Linked DNA regions of Homo sapiens: region 2 is linked to region 1. The links are contacts of gene promoters, found by promoter capture Hi-C in blood cells and fetal thymus (Javierre and others, 2016). All regions are on one chromosome and are shown on one strand. The core of a region is centred on a gene start or on the middle of the fragment in contact, and the rest is flanking DNA. Distances in the headings are between cores, read along the strand shown. Region 1 holds the start of MYO1D (myosin ID). Region 2 overlaps PSMD11 (proteasome 26S subunit, non-ATPase 11).

The links. The method cuts DNA at HindIII sites, captures the fragments that hold promoters and counts their contacts. A CHiCAGO score of 5 or more calls a contact.
Region 2: a contact is called between a fragment that was not itself captured here and the fragment with the promoter of MYO1D in region 1, in 5 of 17 cell types (naive CD4 T cells, naive CD8 T cells, fetal thymus and 2 more). The highest score is 7.4, in naive CD4 T cells.

The regions. Positions count from the first base shown.
Region 1 is chr17:32,875,126-32,878,768 of GRCh38, forward strand. MYO1D (myosin ID) reads right to left here and starts at 1,999. Exons shown (of 22, transcript NM_015194.3): 1 at 1,653-1,999. The coding sequence starts at 1,747. MYO1D-DT (MYO1D divergent transcript) reads left to right here and starts at 1,730. Exons shown (of 4, transcript NR_184086.1): 1 at 1,730-1,768; 2 at 2,719-2,836; 3 at 3,175-3,510. RefSeq lists silencers at 1,335-2,324, 1,531-1,718. The HindIII fragment of the contact is 7,647 bases long and covers 706-3,643 here.
Region 2 is chr17:32,471,319-32,474,961 of GRCh38, forward strand. PSMD11 (proteasome 26S subunit, non-ATPase 11) reads left to right here. Exons shown (of 14, transcript NM_002815.4): 7 at 2,483-2,627; 8 at 3,446-3,506. Among named protein-coding and RNA genes, the nearest start is that of CDK5R1, 14 kb to the right of the region's middle. The HindIII fragment of the contact is 3,588 bases long and covers 1-3,477 here.

The DNA.
Region 1 (3,643 bases), core at 749-3,248:
CTTGTATACAGTATGTACATAATAAATGTACCAATGTCTGAAAAACTGAAATGATTATAACTGAGAGTGACAAAATTATAAAGGCATTTCTCAAAGCACACAACTTATTTCCTGTGGGGGAGAGGAGTAGAATCTCTTAATTTAAAACAACCTTAATCTATGAAATTGCTATGTAACTTACCCCTTTATCTATTTTATGTGCACTTGGGAAAACTTAAAACAGTTTTACTAATATGGATTTGCCAGGCACTAATCTTTGAAGTATGTATACACATATTATTAATAATTCATTTAACCCTCAGGACAACCCCAATCCTACAGACGGGAAGACTGAGGCACAGAGAGGTTAAGTAACTTGCTCAAAGATCACAGCAAGAATGCAGTGGAACTAGAATTTGAATCTCAACAGTCTGACTCTTAATCACTATGATAATGGGTATTGGTTATAGCTGATGTAGAGGTATATCATTTTGATTAATATTTGGGGTGATTTCTATAAAAGTTGTACATCCAAACCTTGATCAGAAATGTAACATCCTATCATTATGCTGGTATGTAATCAACCTGATTGACCCCTGTCAACTGGATTGACAGGGGTAGTTAATAATGAAATTAGGGTTAAGCACCCAAGCCTAGATTATGACTTTCACTTTATAAGCTTAAGGAATGATGTTTAGCTATAAACCTTAGAAGAAATGCAGCCAAAGCTTGCAGGGAAACATACACACGCACACCAAAACTCAGCTATTTTGAAATTCCACTTACTTTAATGTTTAAGTCAAACTACTTTAAAACTGTTTACATATTACTCTATCAAGGGTGAAATAATCGCATGTAAAGGGCTTTCTAAAACAAATCCACATCTTGGAAGCCCATTTTGGGGCGTTGAGTTGTGACTACGTTCTCAAGGATGTTAATAACACAAGAGCTCCATCCACTAACTCCTTGAAAAAAACCAAAACCATGAACGTCTTGTCAAATTCAGACAGTTTATCTTGGCACTGGCAAGTACAGCAGTCTCTTCGATGTCTGGAAACGTGTCTAATTACGTTTAGAGAGTAACTAAAAAAATAGCCAGTGTCCCGGAACAGACAGCTCAGGGATCACTCCATAGCATCCTGAATGACAGGATGGAACTACGCCAGGAGGAAAAAAAAAAGAAGGGCGAAGAAAGAAAGAAAAGAAGCAAGTGTAAAGCCGGGATGAGACGCCAGCCTCTCTCCAAAATAATCCTCCAGTCCTCCTAGGGCCTTCGGGGCCACCGCAACTCTCGTTCAAGTTATTTCCCTTCAGTTTCCATGAGGTCACCGGCCCGCCCACATCCCTCACCTGGCGCGGGGAAGCGCGCCCTCCCGCGCGGCACACCCTCTGCACCTAAACCCCGGACAGCGCCCAGGGCTCCCCTCTCAGGGAAGCGCGGCCCTTGAGCTCGACACGCCCCCCGCACCCCAAAGCGGCCGCACCCCAGGGGCGTCCGCTCTCGGGAAAGCGCAGCCGCGGAGCTTGGCAGACCCCCGGACACCGCAGCCCGGCCGCGCCTCCATCCCTGGAGCTTGGGCGCTCCCGACACCCCGGATCCGGCCGCGCCCCGAGGCGCCCCCTCTCGGGAAAGCGCAGCCTCGCGCCCCTGCGCGCGGCCGCTCCGCCCTCACCTGAGCCTGAGGTTGGCCATGAACTCGGGCATGGAGACGGTGTCCATCAGCACGAAGTCTGCCTTGCCGAATTCCAGGCTCTCCTGCTCCGCCATGGCGCCAGCGCGGGGGCTCAGGTGGGCGCGCTCGGGCCTCCGGGGCCGCTCCGTGGGCCCGCGATGAGCTCGGGAGGGGCCGGGGCGAGGCCGCGCCGCGAGGCTACGGGGAGGGGGCGCGCACGCCGCTCGGCGGGTCCGGGCCGGACAGAGGCCGCCTCGCTGCTCCTCGGCGCCTTCTCGGCCGGCGCGGCTCCGAACGGGACGCACCCGACAGTTTCCGCTCCTCCCGCCGCGGCTGCCGGGCGCTGTAGGGGCCGGGACACCGAGACGGAGACGGCAGCGGCTGGTCCCGCCTCCAGCCTGGGGCTCGTCCCGGCTCCGCCCCGCCCGGGCCTCCCGGCTCCGCCCCTCCCGGCCCACTGAGGAGCCCGCCCCAGCCGCGGCCCTGGCCGCCGCCTCTTCACCTGGGCGGCGCGCACGCGCGGGTGGGCGGCGGGGACGCGCGCTGGGCCGGGCGGCGGCAGCTGGGTGGCAGCGCCCCCTGGGGACAGGCGCTGGGATCTCAGGCGGCCAAGAGGATGGCCGCCTGCCGCCCACACTTGGTAGCTGCCAACAAAGTTAGAAAAGTAGTTCGTGGAGCTTTTCGCGAGGACAATTCATTATGATTCTGTCACCCTGCTCCAAAACCCACTCCCGCCTCTCTACTCACACCCTGCCCATTCTTGAAGTGGTGGTTCAAGCACAGACTGAGAGGTAATAATAATGGCTAACATTTTTGGGGCACCAAAAATGCCCAGAGCTGTTCTCAGCGCCTTAGAGAACTTTTAAGAAACTTGCCATACGACTAGGAAGTGGAGCAGCTGCGGTTTCACGCAGGTCATTTGACTTAGGAGCCGCAGCGTTCAACCACGTCTGACTACCTCCATTCTTCAGTGGCCCATTTTCTCTTCCACTCATCCGAGCATGTCATCAGACATTACCTTATATGATTATTAAGTTTTTAATATATCTTTGTATCATCTCTCCAGGATTATTGCGGATGTCTTGAGCATGGGACCATTCTTTTTGCATCCACCAAATAACTATTGTACTACTTTGCATATATAAATATGAAATCCATACTGGTTCAGTGGAATGAAGTGAGTTGTAAGTAGTCTCCAATTTATTGATACATTGGTTGAGCTTGGAAAATTCTTTTTGAACTCAATGTATTTTCCCAAAGAAAATATACTACAAATGACTTTCTTTCTTTTTTTTTTTTTTTTCTTTTTCTGGAGACAAATTCTCCCTCTGTCACCCAGGCTGGAGTGCAGTGGTGCAATCACAGCTCACTGCAACCTCAAACTCCTGGGCTCAAGCAATCCTCCAGCCTCAGCCTCCTGAGCAGCTGGGACTACAGGTGTATGACACCATGCCCAGCTATTTTTTTTAAATAAATGACTTTCTAAGGTATCTACATTTATTCAGTCCTGTGTTTCTGTTAGGACATCTTCTATTACAAAATCTACGAGGAAATCTAGAGGCCTCCAAGGACCTGGCTGGGCTTCAACTCTGGCTGAGTTTGAGATGAGTAAACCAGACTGAAGGACCTTGCCCAAGGCCTGCTTCAGCTGCCAGCCACCCACACTTGCTAAGAGAAAGGAAAGGAGCTTTGTCACCTCCTGAGGGACTGCCTCTGCCATCAGAAAACCACCCCAATCCCTGGCACCAGCAGAGCTGGGTTGCATCTGACTACCGTTAGCAGCTGTCCTTCAGAAGGAGGAGATCCACCTGTCTCGATATCAGTGTCCTCATTTGTGGAATAAAAGCTCTGGAATAAGGTAGGACTGTCCTATGGTTGGGTCATTTGTGGAGGTGTCGGTCAGTGGCTAAGTAGGTTATTGCATAGGGTATGGTTGTATTCCTAATGTTTGTATTGGCATGTTTTAACATAAGCAGAACTGAACTTCAAGA
Region 2 (3,643 bases), core at 434-2,933, 400 kb before region 1:
AGGGGATTGGTTAGGTCAACTATGGTATATCAGTCTGAAGAAATACTGCTTAGCCATGTATAATTAAGTTCATGGATTTGGCATTATGTGAAAGCTGTACACTGAGTGCATTTAGGCAAAAGCACATCCACAAATGATAAATATTTGAAATGAAAATATAAGATGTTGGATTCCCTCTCCCATGCCCCATGACAGTTGCATAAATATAAAACTATCAGGCTTAGAAAAGCTATCTTAAAGTAGTTAATATTATTAGAACAGGTCATTCAGGCAGTCTAGAGATGTTTAGGTCAACTCCCTGACCTGTGAATGTGATGTCATGGAGGGTAAACATGGCCTTTTCCTGTGGCTCCAAAAGATAGCAGGACTGGAATGGTGGTGAGAAGCATGGAAGAAAGATGGTACAGTATGTGTTTTTCAGGTCCCTTTTAAGTTGAGTCTCTAACTCCTTTGGGAACTTATATTGGCAATATGACATTGAGCTGGGAGGTCAGAGACTTGGATTCTCATCTTCTAATCTCAGCTGTCAAATTGCTGACTATGGTGACTTTGGGCAGGTTTTTTTTTTTTTAGACGGTCTCACTTTTTCACCCATGCTGCAGTGCATTTTTGCTATCACAGCTCCCATCGCTATCATCAGCCTCCCAGGCTCACGTGATCCTCCTACCTCAGTCTCATGAGTAAGTAGCTGGGGCTACAGGCATGTGCCACCACGCCTGGCTAATTTTTTGTAGAGATGGGGTTTCACCCTGTTGCCTAGGCTGGTCTTGAGCTCCTAGGTTCAGGTGATCCACCTGCCTTGGCCTCCCAAAGTGTTGAGATTACAGATGTGAGCCACTGTGCCTGGCAGAGCAGGTTCTTTATCCTTTCCTGACCTCATCAGTAGGTTGGTGGAGTTGACGTAGAGTTTTTTTTTTTTTTTGAGACAGTGTCTTGCTCTGTTGCCCAGGCTGGAGTGCAGTGACGTGACCTCGGCTCACTGCAACCTCTACCTCCTGGATTCAAGTGATTCTCCTGCCTCAGCCACCTGAGTAGCTGGGATTACAGGCATGTACCACCAAGGCCGGCTAATTTTTGTATTTTTAGTAGAGATGGCGTTTTGCCTTGTTGGCCAAGCTGATCTCGATCTCCTGACCCTCAAGTGATCTGGCTGCCTTGGCCTCCCAAAGTGCTGGGATTATAGACGTTAGAGTTTACAGACGTGAGCCACTGTGCCTGACCTCTTTTTTTTTTTTTTAAGACGGAGTCTCACTCTGTCGCCCAAGTTGGAGTGCTGTGGCGTGATCTCAGCTCACTGCAACCTCCACCTCCTGGGTTCAAGAGATTCTCCTGCCTCAGCCTCCCAAGTAGCTGGGATTACAGGTGCCCGCCACCATGCCTGGCTGGTTTAGTATTTTTAGTAGAGACAGGTTTTTACCATGTTGGCCAGGCTGGTCTTGAAATCCTGACCTCAGATGACCCTCCTGCTTCTGCCTCCCAAAGTGCTGGGATTACAGGCATGAGCCACCATGCCCGGCCTTTTTCTTTTTTTTTTTTTTTTTTAAGAGACAAGGTCGGCTGGGTGTGGTGGCTCACACCTGTAATCCCAGCACTTTGGGAAGCCGAGGCGGGTGGATCACTTGAGGTCAGGAGTTCAAGACTAGCCTGGCGAACATACGGTGAAACCAGTCTCTACTAAAAATACAAAAAATTAGCCGGGCGTGGTAGTGGGTGCCTGTAATCCCAGCTACTTGGGAGGCTGAGGCAGGAGAATTGCTTGAACCCACGAGGCGGAGGTTGCCGTGAGCTGAGATTGCGCCATTGCACTCCAGCCTCAGTGACAGAGTGAGACTCGGCTCAAAAAAAAAAATAAAGAGACAACATCTAACTCTGTTACTTAGGCTCAAACTCTTGGGCTCAAGCTATCCTCCTGCCTCAGCCTCTCAAAAGTGCCGAGATTACAGGAGTGAACCCCTGCACCTGGCTTTTTTTTTTTGAGACGGAAGTTTGCCCTTGTTGCCCAGGCTGGAGTGCAGTGGCGCAATCTCGGCTCACCGCAACCTCCGCTTCCTGGGTTGAAGTGATTCTCCTTCCTCAGCCTCCCGAGTAGCAGGGATTACAGGCATGCGCTACCACACCCAGCTAATTTTTTTTGTAATTTTAGTAGAGATGGGATTTGTCCATGTTGGTCAGTCTGATCTTGAGCTCCTGACCTCAGGTGATCCGCCTGCCTCAGCCTCCCAAAGTGCTGGGATTATAGGCGTGAGCTGAAACCGTGCCCAGCATTTTTTTTTTTTTCAAGAGATGGGGTCTTACTATGTTACTCAGGCTTGTCTCGAACTCCTGGGCTCACATGATCCTCCCATCTCAGCCTCCCAAAGTGTGGATTTACAGGTGTGAGCCACCGTGCCCATTTAGGTAGATGTCTAAGCTGCCTCCCAGCTCTGATCTTTTATGGCTCTATTATTTTATATGTTCTTATTCCTTTCTTTTCAATGCCCAGGTATTATCCATGCAGCAGAAGAGAAGGACTGGAAAACTGCGTACTCATACTTCTATGAGGCATTTGAGGGTTATGACTCCATCGACAGCCCCAAGGCCATCACATCTCTGAAGTACATGTTGCTGTGCAAAATCATGCTCAACACGTAGGTGCACCTTAACTCTGGACTACAAGAACTCAGATCCTTCAGCAAGTCTGTTTGCCATGGCAGAGATGGCCTGAGCAGGGAGTTTGGCCAGTTACAGAAACAGCAGCAGCTGCGGCCTCTAGGGCTGGCTAAGGTAGAGCGGGAGGATCAAAAGTGGTCCAGAAAACTTTCGCTTGCTAGTCTTTCAGAATCAGGCAGACATTTTAGAAATCCCCTTCCCAGCTCCTCTTGGAGAATTCTCCTCATCCTTTAAATATTCTGTCCTCATAGGTGCAGAGCACAGGACAGAGGGTCAGGAAATAGCTTACAGATCAGCCAGTAACAGCCAACTGAGCCACCCAGAATGAGGAAGGAAGGGTTAAGGAGAGGTTTGAAAAAGTGGACAACAAAAGTATGACAGACCTACTTATAAAGAAGTCTACAGAATTATTCAATTCTTTTGGGAATAAATGAAATATTGACTAAGAACTCTCTCTGGATCTTTGGATTACATAAGGGCTATGTTTTAATAATACCTGTTACACTGGGATTTGACTTAAACTTATAGTTCTGCTTGTTGTGTCTATTGCTTTTGGTAGGTTCAGTTCAGCTTTCTAACATTGGAGTTTTTCTACTCTTCAGGCTGAGCTGTGACCCAGAGTGGAGAAAACCTAGCTTTTGCAATGTGATGGGCATATGGGTTTAGGGGTTGGGCTGATTGTCTGTGTGGGCAGAGTCTTTATTACAATGGAATTCTGTTAAAAAGAAATTTGCCCAAACCTTCCTTTAGAAGCATAACATCTGCAGCAATTGACCAAGTATGTCTTTTTTTCTAGCCCAGAAGATGTCCAGGCTTTGGTGAGCGGGAAGCTTGCACTTCGGTATGCAGGGAGGCAGGTAGGGACTCCCTTGACTGCAGTTCTGCTCACTCTGAGACCAGCATGTTTTCAGAGTCACAACGTTTGATGAGACCAGCACTCTTCAGATCTTCATACTACTCTCTTCCTTCTGCCCCACTCACTTCCTTCCCTTAA